Regions from separate parts of the Homo sapiens genome. Here all the other regions are linked to region 3. The links are contacts of gene promoters, found by promoter capture Hi-C in human tissues and cell types (Jung and others, 2019). All regions are on one chromosome and are shown on one strand. Each heading gives the region's core, a stretch centred on a gene start or on the middle of the fragment in contact. The rest is flanking DNA. Distances are from core to core; before and after follow the strand shown.

Region 1 (3,997 bases), core at 484-2,983, 150 kb after region 3:
CGCGCGTGCACACACACACACACACACACACGTGTGCATGCTGGGATCTGTAAATGCACAAGGGTGCCCACGCATGCTGGTACGGGTGTGTGCCATGTGGACAACTACATGTGAGTGCTGTGAGGATGTGTGTGAATAGATACAGGTGCCACTGTACCTCTGCGTGTCCAGGACTCTGTGCATATGTGGGCAAATGCCTGCATGCACAGGCTGAAGGAGCTCTTCTGGTAAATTCTTGGCATGCACAAAGCCCCGTGTGTGTGTGTGTGTGTGTGTGTGTGTGTGTGTGTGCGTGCGTGCATGGACGCTTGCGGGGCATGGAGTCTGCTTGCCCCACTCCAGCCTCTCACCCTTGCCCAGCCCGGAAGTAGCCTTGAGGACAGCCGCACAGGAAGCCACCAGGCGTGTTGGCACAGCTGTAGCTACAGGGGCCACGCCGTCCGGCGCACTCATCCACCTCCTGGCAGCCCCCGAGGGCCTGATCAAAGTCAAAGCCAGAGGGGCAGACGCAGCGGAAGCCACCAAGAGTGTTGCGACAGGAGGCGCTCCCGCAGGTGGGGGGCGACAGGGCACACTCATTCTCATCTGTGGGAGGAAAGGAGGAGGAGAGGGAGGACGCAGAGGTGGGGCAGTGCAGCCTTCACACCCCCAGAGCCCTCCACCTGGAATGCTGTATGTTCAGAGCCCAAGTCCAATGCCAAACTCTTCAGCAAGCTGGCAGTGAGCCCTGAGACTAGATCGGCCCCATAGCCCCGCTGCCCCAAACCCTGTGGTTCTCCTTCACAACATCTCTCAACACTTCCCCTAAACCCCAAAATGTGGGATGATCTAGAACAAGCTTTCTCACCCTCAGTGCTATTGACACTTGGGGCCAGATCATTCTCTAGGGAGGAGGCCTCCTTGCACTGTGGGACATTGAACAGCATCCCTGGCTTCCACCCGCTTGACACCAGGAAAACCTATCCGCCTCCAATTGTCTGTTTGGAGTTGGGAGTCTCACTCTGTTGCCCAGGCTGGAGTGCAGTGGTGCAACCATAGTGCACTGCAGCCTTGACGTCCTGGGCTCAAGGGATCCTCCTGCCTCAGCCTCCTGAGTAGCTGGGACTACAGGTGTGCACCAACATGCCTGGCTAATCTTTTAACTTTTTGTAGAGATGGGGGGTCTTGCTATGTTGCCTAGGCTGGTCTTGAACTCCTGGCCTCAAATGATCCCCCTACCTCAATATCCCACAAGAGTGAACTACCATGGCGGATCCCAATTGTGATGATCAAAAATGTCTCGCAGACACTTCAAAATGTACTATGGGGGTAAAATGGTCCTCTGTTGAGAACCTAGTTAGGGGTCTAATTAATCTCTGTTTCCTTTGCTGGACTGAAAAACTCAAGGCAGAAATGGTTTTTCAGCTCACTTCTGCATCTGAGCTCAGGGCCTAGTGAAAGGCAGGTCCTTGGCAAACAGTTGGGGAAAGAATGAATGAGTCAGTACGGGGGGAGGAAACAAGTTGAGGAAGAGTTGCCAGCAAAGGCCAATGGTCTGTGGGATCCCCAAGATCCCCAGGGGACAAGCAGCTTGCCTGGGGGGTGGGGTCGTGTGGTGTGGGAAGCCCAAGAAGAACTTAGCTAAAGACCCACCATGACAGACAAAAGGAGGGGGCAGAGAAGGCAGTGCCTGTGAGGCAGTGGGAGAGCAGGGATAGCCACATCACAAAGGCCACAGGAGAGAGTGTCCAGGAGCCTGAAGGGGCAGACTGTGGTGCCCAGAGCAGTGGAGGTAGAGGATGGAGGCCGAGGAGAGGTCTCAGGAGAGAGCAAGTGGGCCTGAAAATGGTAGAGGGTGAAAGCTGCACTGCAGTGGAGGAATGAAAAGAGCAGTGAAAGAGGCTGCTAGGAGGTCCTAGAGCAGCCAGAAGATGGGGGAAGGTTGGGGGGCAGAAGGCTAGCCCCCCAAATGGAGGGCCTCTGCAACAGCTATGGCAATGACATAGCATGCACACCTCCATTGCCCCTTGCAGCATCCATAGCAGACATCACTAATCACACTCGTGGCAGACATCACTAATCAATCACAGCACTCTTTCCCTGTGATCACAAAATTGCAGACTTCAGGTCTCAGAATCTTTCTCAACTGAGTCCTCCAGGCCACCATGCCCTAAGGAATGAACTCAGACACTTTTTGATGCTTATTCTGCTGCACCTTGACTCCCCAGCAGTGGGGAACTCACTACCTTCTGGGCTGGCCTGTTCAATCTTTAGATAATTGTGCTTGTCACATCATCTTGCAGGGTGGCGTCTGTTAGTCGCCTGCTCTGAGCAGATTCTGGTGGAGGGCCCAGCTTCTTCCCAGCCCTTTTCACTCACCCACACACTGGGCCCACTGGGAGTGCTGGGTGAAACCCTGGGGGCAGCTGCAGCGGTAGCCCCCTAGCTGGTTCTGACAGCCATGCTGGCAGCGGTGGGGCCCATCACATTCATTCACATCTGAGACATAGAGAGAGGGAGAGAGGGTTTACCAGACGGCTCTCAGGACCAACACCCCCAAACACTAGACCCCAGCCAAAGCTGGGCTGTACCTTCACAGCCATGGCCTGAGCTGACCAGGGTGAAGCCTTGGTGGCATTCACAGCGGAAGCTGCCCGGGGTGTTGTGGCAGTGCCCGTGGGCACCACATGGGCCAGGCTGGGCTGAGCACTCATCATTGTCTGCAGAGGAGAGAGATCAGGCAGGGTTGCCTGCTGGTTAAGGAACTCGTGTCAGGTGACACAATGCCAGTCCCACCACTGTGTGGCTTCAGGCAAGTTGCTCACCCTCTCTGTGCCTGTTTCCCACTCTGTGAAATGAGATCTGTAACAGTTCCTGACTCAGAATAGGCACCAATGTTTGAGATCCTGCACATAAAGAATCTCATCTCCACCGCCTCGAAGCTGTGTGTCCTTGGGCAACTTACCTACCCTCTCTGTGCCTCGATGTCCTCAGCTGTATATGGAGATGATAATGTCTACCTCATTGCATTTTTGTGTGCATGCGAGAATTAAATTAACCTAATCATGTAAAAGGCTTAGGGCAGTGCCCGGTAAAAGAGTAAAAGATAAACAAAGCCTCTTTTCCTTCTCCCATGGAAAAATGACATAGGGTTGCCTGTTGAGTTTTGTTCCCATGGAAACCTGACAATAGTGTGAGGTCAGCCGGTGCCATGGATTGAATGTTCGTGTCTCTCCAAAATCCTATGTTGAAGCCCTAACCCCCAGTGGGCTGGTATTTGGATATTAGGTCTTTGGGAGGTGATCAGGGTTAGATAAGGTCATGAGGGTAGGGCTTTTATGATGAGAATAGTGCCCTTATAAGAGACACCAGAAAGCTTGCTCTGTCTCTGCCAAGTGAGGACACAGCAAAAAGGTGGCTGTCTGCAAACCAAGAAGAGAGCCCTCACAGAACCAGCCGTGCTGCCACCTTGATCTTGAACTGCCCAGCTTCCAGAATGGAAAAAAAAATAAATCTCTGTAGTTTAAGCCAACCAGTGTATGGGTTGTCCGTGTGCGTGTGTGTGTGTGTGTGTGTGTGTGTGTGTGTAAGCTATTGTTTTAAACTGAATAGTCTGTGATCATCTTTCTATGTCTTTAAATATTCTTACTATTCTTGGGGGCTGGGTACAGTGGCTCATGCCTGTAATCCCAGTGCTTTGGGAGGCCTAGGGAGCCTCCGGATCACCTGAAGTCAGGAGTTCGAGATCAGCCTGACCAACATGGTGAAGCCCCATCTCTACTAAAAATACAAAACAATTTAGCCAGGTGTGGTGGTACACGCCTGTAGTCCCAGCTACTCGGGAGGCTGAGGCAGAAGAATCGCTTGAACCCGGGAGGCGGAGGTTGCGATGAGCCAAGATTGTTCCACTGCACTCCAGTCTGGGTGACTGACAGAGTGAGATTCCATCTTAAAAATATATGTATACATACACATATATATATATTTTTCTTACTATTCTTATTTGCATAATTTTAAA
Region 2 (4,143 bases), core at 157-2,656, 180 kb after region 3:
GGGCTAGATGAAGGATGGGGGGTGGATGGATGGGTGAATGGATGGATACAAGGATAGCAGAGGGATGAGTGATGAATGGATGAATGGGTGGATGGGGCATGGTTGGATGGAAGGATGGAGGGATGGATGGAAGGATGGATGAATGGAAGGATGGATGAATGGGTAGATAAAGGATAGTTGGATGGAAGGAAGGATAGATGAATGGGTAGATGGGGGATGGTTGGGTGGAAGGATGGATGGATGGAAGGATGGGTGGATGGAAGGATAAATGGACAGAAGGAGGGGGGATGGATGAAAGGATGGAGGATAGATGAAGGATGGGGGATAAATGGGTGAATGGATGGATAGAAGGATAGGAGGGGAATAAGTGGGGGGATGGATGAATGGGTAGATGGAGAATGGTTGGATGGGTGGAAGGATGAATGGATGAAAGGATGAGTGGAAGGATAGATGAATGGATGGATGGTCGAGTGGAAGGATGGATGGATGGATGGATGGATGGATGAATGGATGGAAGGATGAGTGGAAGGATGGATGAATGGATGGATGGTCGGGTGGAAGGATGGATGGATGGATGGATGGATGGAGGGATGAATGGACAGAAAGATGGGGGATAGATGAAGGATGGGGAATGAATGGTTGACTAGATGGATGGATAAAAGGATAAGAGAGGGATGAGTGGAGGATGGATGAATGGGTAGATGGAGGATGGTTGAATGGAAGTATGGAAGTATGGAAGGAAGAATGGATGGAGGATGGCTGGATGGAAGGATGTATGGATGTACTGGATGGATGGAAAAAATGGAAGGATGGATGGATGGATGGATAGATGGATGAATGGCTGGATGGATGGGTAGAAGGATGGATGAATGGATGGAAGGATGGGTGGATGGAAGGATAAATGGACAGAAGGATGGAGGATGAATGGAAGGATGGGGGACAAATGAAAAGATCAATAAACCAACAAGTGGAAGAAATGGCTGAAAGAACAGATAAAAAAAATTAAACACAAACTAAAAGCATAGTGTGGTCCTGCTGCTCAGCCTCCAGGTGGAAAGATCTGCCCCATCCCAGGACAAAACTACTCAACTCTACACTTTGGTGAGGTGGGGATGAGAGAAAAGTCAGTCTCTAGGCAGACAGATGGATGGATGATCTGCCAGGAACTCACCTTCCAGAATGACAGTGATGCGGTTAGGCTGGAAGCCCTCACCACCCGGGCACAGGGTTCTGTACTCAGCTGTAAAGGGAAACAGGCTCCTGTGAGGTGGGGTATTGGGGCAAAGCTTAGGGGAAACAGGGGAGCAACAGCAGGAAGCCTGAAAAGGGCTCAAGAGTGGGCTCCCATCCTTCTACTGTACTAACGACATCCCCATATCTCTTTAGCCTCTTGGGGCCAAGAGACTTTGGCCAGTCCTGGGGCTGCTTGCGTGTGTGTGTGCATGTGCGTGTGCATGCGTGTGTGTGTGTAAATGTGGGTTCCCATTCAACATGTGAGCAGAGTTATGTGGTAGTGGCTGGGGGTAGGAGGGAGAGAAGATTATTCCTTCTGATCCAAAACCATATCCTAGTGTAACTGCAAGTTTTCCCCATGCAAGGAAGACCTTGGACATTCACACACGCATACACCTGAATAGGTGGACAGGTACCTCCCTGTTTCACACCTGAGGCCTTTGCACATACTGTTCTCACTGCATTGCACATCATTCCCCCTACTCTGCTAGGAAAACTCCTACACATCCTTCAAAACCTCACTCAAGCCTCCTCCCCTGGAAAGCCTTCCCCAGAGCTTTCACTTCCCCACAGCTTTCTCCTGAGCTATGGGTATGCCTCAAAGAAAACCCTTAGGACAGTTCTACTCTCACAGTCCTGAAACTGTTGATTTAAGGGTGAGGGAGAAGCAGCGTGCAGAGGCTGTGGCTCATCCTTCTCTGAGTCCCCAGTCCCCAGCACATGACACAGAGGAACTCTCAATATTTGTTGACTGACTGAGTGATCAAGTGACTATAAACACAGAGAATTTACAGAAAGCGACCTTGGAGAGAGGCCCAGCCAATGAACTACCAAGACGTACACTGTGTGACCCAGGATGAGCCCCTCTCCTCCCCCAGTTCTTGGTTTTCCTGTCGCCTAAGCCCCCCACCACCGCCATTAGCAGAGGTGACCCCCTAAGCTCCCGGGCCTCGGTGGCTTAGGTCACGGTGTTCAACTGCCCCGCAGGGACTCACTGGTGTTGGCCATAGGGCACAGCTCACAGGGATTGCCCCAAGCCCGGCCCAGGGAGCAACAGCAGGAAGCTCGGGTGACACCAACTCCGATCTCGGCACTGCAGGAAATGCCACTGTCCCCTCGGTCATGCGTCTCCAGGAAACAGTTCCCGGCCCGAGTGTCTGAACAGGCAGAAGGGGATGGTTAGTAGGTGTCAGAGGGAAAGCTGTATGTGTGCGTGTGCATGCATGTGTCTATTTCAACAGGTGACAAGGACAACCACTCTTGCAGGAGACCAGCAGATGTCCCGTTTGTCAGGAGCAGGTAGATTTGAACACGTTGACATCTGAGTTAACCCAGTGGGGCAATCCCACCCACCTCTGCTGACCCCAGAACCCTGATCTGGAGTTGAGCATGGACTCACCCACGCAGCCCACTCCGCTGGGGTTCAGCTCAAAATCCTGGGGGCAGCTGCAGAGGTAGCTGCCGGGGGTGTTAATGCACACGCCGTTGATGCAGTTTACTGGGTCTGCACACTCGTTGATGTCTGTAGGGAGGAAGCGCGGTCCTCAGCAGGGAGCCCCTTCCTCGGCCCCCCTCCCTCCTAGCTTCATCCTGGGAAGCTACAGCCCTCGCTCAAGGTCAACTCCTGGGCACCAGATTGTGGGACAATGTCATGTCCTTCCCTGGGAAGAAACCTAAGGGGACAGGAGCCTCCAGTCTGTCCTGTCCCCTCCAACCCCATTCCCTCTCCTGCTCTGTTCTGCCTGGCAGAGTTTTGTTCATTGAACTCTACCTGCCCTGGGTTCCATGCAGTCAACATATGAAAATCATATCTATTTTATTTCCGTAATTTATTGATGTTTAGAGACAGGGTCTTGCTGTGTCGACCAGGCTGGAGTGCAGTTGCACAATCACGGCTCACTGCAGCCTCAAACTCCTGGGCTCAAGCGATCCTTCTGCCTCAGCCTTTGGAGTAGCTGGGACTACAGGTGTGCACCACAATGCCCAGCTAATTTTTTATTTTTACTTTTTAGAGATGAGGTCTCGCTATGTTGCTCAGGCTGGTCTCCAACTCCTGGCCTGGAGTGATCCTCCCACCTCAGCCTCCCAAAGTGCTGAGATTATGGGCATGAGCCACCACTCCCAGCCAAAACCCATATATAGAAAATACTTTCAAACCATGGGTTAGCAAATTCCAACCTGTAGGTCAAATCCGGTCCACCACCTGTTTGTGTCAATAAAGTTTTATTGGTACAGGGGCCACATTCATTCATTTACATATTGCTTGTGGCTGCTTTTGAGCTACAATGGCAGAGTTGAATCATTGTGACAGAGACTGACTGTGTGGCCTGCAAAGCCAAAAATATTTACCACCTGCCCATTTCTAAAACACACAGAGGTAGGAGACCCTTTCAGCAGCTAGCGTGGAGGGGCCACTTCAATCACAGAACTTATTTAGCAGGCGAACAGGAACGGGAAATGATGGGGACATCAGGCAAGGCGCCCCCCACCCCCCAGCAAGACTGCAGGGGAGGATGCTTGAAAAGAGATCTGAGGGCAGTGAGGGAGTGAGCCATGTCCCCTGCCCCAACTCCTGCTCTCTCCTCTCCCCTTCCAGCCCAGATGACCTCACACCTGTGCAGTTGCCACCCCCTCGGTCCAGTTCGTAGCCACCATTGCAGATGCAGCGGAACATTCCAGGCAGGTTCTCACAGCTCCCAAATGCACAGAGGTTCCCTTGCGCACACTCGTCCACATCTGCGGGGACCCTGGGTCAGCCTGCCCCACCCAGAGTCTGCAGGGGGGACCTACCCACTCTGTCCTCTGCCCTGGCGGGCCCAACCTTACCCTGGCAGGCCCGGTGGTCCTCGGTGGGGTCAAAGCCCATCTCACATTCACAGCGGTACCCGCCGGGCGCATTGAGGCACTGCC
Region 3 (4,230 bases), core at 1,728-4,227:
GACCAGTCGTGGTTACTCCCTGCTGCCAGGTCCTTCCCCTTCCCGGGGGTATTCTGTGACCATGAATAAAGTTATCATTCTCTTTCTCTTTCACCTGTGACTTAAAGATGGAAGTGGGGGCCCTGAAGTGTCAGAGCTTGGGGGTCACAGGGCTGGGGGTGTGTGCCAGGGAGGAGAGCTGCCACCTGACTGGTGTGATGAGGCCTGGGGTGAGGAGCCCCTTGGTGACTGTGAAGCTGACAAGTGTGGATGGGGAGAGCCGGCAGGGCACCTTGGGGACAGGCGTCAGGGATGGGTTTCAGAGTAGGGCAAAATCACATCGCACAGGTGGAGGGGAGAAGGCAGCAGAGAGTGGGGGTGACCCGGTGGAAGGAGTTGAGCCCCAGGCTGGGCGGTTAGAGGAAGATAGATAGGGGTGGGCTGCCCCGAGTGGCAGGAGGCTAGTGGGAGTGGAGTGTCCCCTGGGGTGGCTTTGGGACCTCAAGGATCCCTAGAAGGCGGGGAGGGAGGGGTACTGGAGTCAGGGCTGACCCCAAACCCCTGGGGGTGCTGGGACCCCGCTTGAGGCCCCCTCCATCAGCTTCACCTGCCCTGTGGGTGTGGACCGAGGGTCGGGTCCTAGAGAGGGAAGCAGATGTCCTCCCACGGCACCGCGTCCCACGCCCAGCTAGTAATCCAAGTCGGTAAATTCTCCGTTCTCGGAGCCTGTGCATTCACCCAGCCTGCCTTTTATAGAAACGCTCATTCCTCCCCCCACACACTGCACACGGCTCCCCTGGGGTGCACATCTCTTGGGAGGGCCTTGGAGCACAGCCAGCCCACTCCGTCCGTGGTCACCGCCCCACCGCACCAGACCCACAAACGCTGCCAATGGTGGTGGGCAGGGGGAGGAGGCTTAGGCTGCAGGTACGGTCGGTCGTCGGAGCCTCCCTCCAGGGCTGGCAGAGGGTGCGCCTCCCAGTTCCCCACAGGGCTGAGTCTCTCTCACCACCCCCGGCGCCTCCCCAGATCAACAGAATTGTGTGTGGAGGGGAGGCAGCTGGGGGTTACACATCAGCCCCCCCCCCCAAAGCCGGTGAAAGGTGCTTGTGATCTTGGTGTCTTTGCAGCCCTGGGAAGCTTTAAAAACATGCAAAAGCCAGACCTGGGTTCCACTTCCAGCCCTACCAGACTCTAGCCATGTGACTGTGGGCAAGTCAGTCACTGGAGCTGCCTGGCCCTCGGTCTCCTGGCCTGTAGAATAGGGATGCTAACAGGGCCTGGCTCATTCTCACGATCCCGAAGAGGAGACAGGCTATAAACAGGAGGTGCCAACTCAGCACGCTACTTGGCATGCAGTAAGCGCTCAATAATAGCTTTTATTATCATGTTCGGCTCAGAGGCAGGGAGGAGTGGAACGGCATGGGAGGGCTGCGGGAGGCACGGCAGGGGGGTCAGGGGCAAGTGGCAGGAGGGCGGATGGGGGGCAGCGGTGGGCACCGGGGCAGGGCGCGCTGACCTGTCCTGGGGCCCGGGTTGGGGGCAGAAATGAGCCTGCCCACGCTGTCCCGCCACGGCAGGCGCCACGCATCCTCGACACAGCCGCCATGGCAGGCCTTCGGGCTCCGTCTCCGGGACAGGCGGTGCAGGGCAAATTGGTATGCAGCGTCCGCCCCGTGGGCCCGGGAGAGCCTGCCCCGCAGGGACCAGAGCCCAAGGACGGGCTCAACACTCAGTCAAGGTGGGGTTGACGACGGCCAGACAACAGGGGAGGGAGGAGGGACAAGGGGGTCCCCACTTCCAGGGACGCACAATAGCAGAGCCACTTACACGCTGGGGAGGGGGCGGTGCGGGGGTCCTCCTCCCGCCCGGGATTCAGAGTCGGGGGTGGGGGCCAGCCGGGCGGGTGAGATGCGCAGAGAGGAAGGGACAGGGCGGATAAAGGCACGAGGTGGGGCTCCGGCCAGGCCAGGAAGGGACATGGGAGGGGTCTCGAGGGGGAGGGGCTGGGCTTCTCCCAACTCCCTCCCCCTCTCCCCCGGGCTGGGGGCTCCGGGGCGGGATCCTGAGCGCAGTCCTGGCCCCGCGGCGCCCCCCGCCGGGCCGGCCCTCTGAGACCCCGGCGCAGGGCCGGCTAGGGGGCGCCGCGCCCCTCACACCAACGCGTAGTCGAACTGCCCGCGCTCGAGCGCCTCCTTGTGGTCGGTCCAGGACGAGGCGGGCATGCGGCTGTAGGGGTCGAGCAGGATGCGCACGCAGCGCACCATCAACAGCACCAGCACCACGAGCAGGCAGAGCACGAAGGCGAACACCGTGCGCTGCTCCGCGTCCAGGCCCGCGCCCACCGGGGGCCCCGTCGACGGCGGCAGGGGCTCCGGCGACAGCGTCCACGTCGCGCTCATGGCTCACATCGCCGCGCGCCCTGCGGAGGAGGGGACCCGCCCCGGGCGCCGGGGATGAGGCTGCGCCCTCCCTCCCGCGCCTCCTCCGCTTCGCCCCCTCCTGCCGCCGCCGCCGCCGCCTCCCTTAACGTGCCCGACCCCATCCCCCGCCCGCGCCTCGGTCCCCGGGCTACGCCCATGCCCGGCCCGCCGGATCGCCGCCACCACCACGCGGGGACCCAACTCTGGCCGTGCGCGCAGGTGGGGGCGCTGAGAGCCGGGAAACGGAGCCGCGCCCGGCCTGGGCCGCACACAACAGGTGCGAAAGCGCGGCCGCGGCCCGGGCGCGCGGCGTGGGGACGGTCCCCGCGGCCCCTGCCCCCGCTCCCTTTGTTCTCGGCGGCCTGGGACCCCCTCCCCCACCGCCCCCGCCCCGGCGCGCCCCTCACCCTGGCTTCGACCCGGACGGGGACCGACCGCCCGGCGGCCGCGCTCTCTCAGGGACCCGCGCCGGCTGCGCGTTCGGCCTCTCCCCGGCGGCGGCGGCGGCGGCCCGGGCTCCGGCTCAGCCCACCCCACCCGCCCCTGGAGCGGCGGAGACCGAGGCAGGCAAGCAGCGCGCGAGCCGGGCCGCCGCGGCTGTTCCTATGGCGACGGGGGCGGGGCCGCCGCGGGGGGCGGGGCTGCAGGGGGCGGAGGCTGCGCAGGGAGCGGCGCGCGAGCCAGCGACCCCGCCCGGGCCTGCGGGAGGACGGAACCCCAGCCCCGAGGACCCGCGAGCACCCACGACCTCGCCGGGGAGTGGGCAGCTGCCACTCCCACCTCCCCTGGCACTTCGGGCCCCCCAGCCTGCCCTGTGCCTGCATTCTCCTCCGCGATAGACCCCACTCGAGACTCCCTGTTTGTGGGGGGACCTCAGTGGCCCTAAAACACTCATATGGGCACTCAAGCTCCCCCGGCCCTGGGGACCTCAATTCTCAGAGAGCTCAGGCAGGTCACTGGGATGAGTAAGTCCCCCTAGTTTTGTCTGTCACTGGCCTCGTCTTCCAACTCAGGGTCCAGCCCTGGGCAAGGCGTCCACCCACTGCGGCTGCAGTTCCTCACTCGACCTTGACCGCCTCCCACAGCAGCCGCCTGCTCCCACCCCCACCATCGCCTCGGCCACTCCCGCGCCAGAGAAGACACTTCAGACTCCGTAGCTGCTCTTCTGCAATTCGGTGTTTTATTCTTTCCAAATCTCAGGCTTATGCACAAGATGGAAGAGCACTGTTAAAATTAAAAAATGGACCTAAAGTGGCTTGGCTGACGTGGCTAGCGGGCCACTGAGCCGCGGGTCCCGGGTCCCACCCTGCTGTGGGGGGAGTCCCTGGGCCCTGGGGCCTCTTGGCACTGTGTGACCTGTGTGCACCCCAGGTGACCAGGCGCCGGGACCCCTGCAGGGCAGAGCAACAGGGCAGGGGTTGGCCCTGCGGGGGAGTGTCTCCAGCTGCCGCGCACCCGCAACAGCCCGTTGTCCCCTCCCGGGCCAGCTGGTCTTGCAGCCGTCCTGGCAGAGCTGGGGGCAGAGCCCGCAGTCTTGTTCCCAGAGGTCTGGAGTTGCCGCAGGTGGTGTTGCGGTGCCTCTGTGCCTGATGACCCAGGCCGGGGCTACCTGGCTCCGGCACCACACTCAGAGAATCTGCTCGGTGCTGGAGGCCGAGATGTCCAGGAGCCGCCAGGCCGCGTAGGGGTTGAGCTCGTCCTGGTCTCGGCAGAGCGCCCACACGTACAGCATCCGCAGCACCTTGTCCTGCAGGGTGGGGTGGGAAGGGCACTGTTGAGAGGGTTGAGGTGACCCAGGCAGCTCTGGGGGGGGGCCAGGCTCTGTGGG

The links. The method cuts DNA at HindIII sites, captures the fragments that hold promoters and counts their contacts. A contact is called where the count stands out against the background at its distance.
Region 1: a fragment that was not itself captured here is called in contact with the fragment with the promoter of CTXN1 in region 3 in 1 of the 25 tissues and cell types used here (bladder).
Region 2: a contact is called between a fragment that was not itself captured here and the fragment with the promoter of CTXN1 in region 3, in 2 of the 25 tissues and cell types used here (adrenal gland and mesendoderm cells).

What each region holds. Positions count from the first base shown.
Region 1 is chr19:8,072,713-8,076,709 of GRCh38, forward strand. FBN3 (fibrillin 3) reads right to left here. Exons shown (of 64, transcript NM_032447.5): 60 at 2,571-2,699; 61 at 2,359-2,478; 62 at 351-585. Among named protein-coding and RNA genes, the nearest start is that of CCL25, 22 kb to the left of the region's middle. The HindIII fragment of the contact is 4,880 bases long and covers 1-3,997 here.
Region 2 is chr19:8,106,999-8,111,141 of GRCh38, forward strand. It overlaps FBN3 (fibrillin 3), which reads right to left. Exons shown (of 64, transcript NM_032447.5): 33 at 4,060-4,143; 34 at 3,847-3,969; 35 at 2,633-2,755; 36 at 2,229-2,390; 37 at 1,172-1,240. Among named protein-coding and RNA genes, the nearest start is that of FBN3, 41 kb to the right of the region's middle. RefSeq lists an enhancer at 3,920-4,143. The HindIII fragment of the contact is 6,298 bases long and covers 1-4,143 here.
Region 3 is chr19:7,923,158-7,927,387 of GRCh38, forward strand. CTXN1 (cortexin 1) reads right to left here and starts at 2,978. Exons shown (of 2, transcript NM_206833.4): 1 at 2,810-2,978; 2 at 1,334-2,401. The coding sequence starts at 2,381. The coding sequence ends at 2,133. It overlaps TIMM44 (translocase of inner mitochondrial membrane 44), which reads right to left. Exons shown (of 13, transcript NM_006351.4): 13 at 3,561-4,149. The coding sequence ends at 4,030. LOC124904629 (a long non-coding RNA gene) reads left to right here and starts at 2,248. Exons shown (of 2, transcript XR_007067120.1): 1 at 2,248-2,679; 2 at 3,416-3,653. SNAPC2 (small nuclear RNA activating complex polypeptide 2) reads left to right here. Exons shown (of 5, transcript NM_003083.4): 5 at 1-93. RefSeq lists silencers at 2,273-2,362, 2,893-3,162 and an enhancer at 3,659-4,230. The HindIII fragment of the contact is 9,564 bases long and covers 1-4,230 here.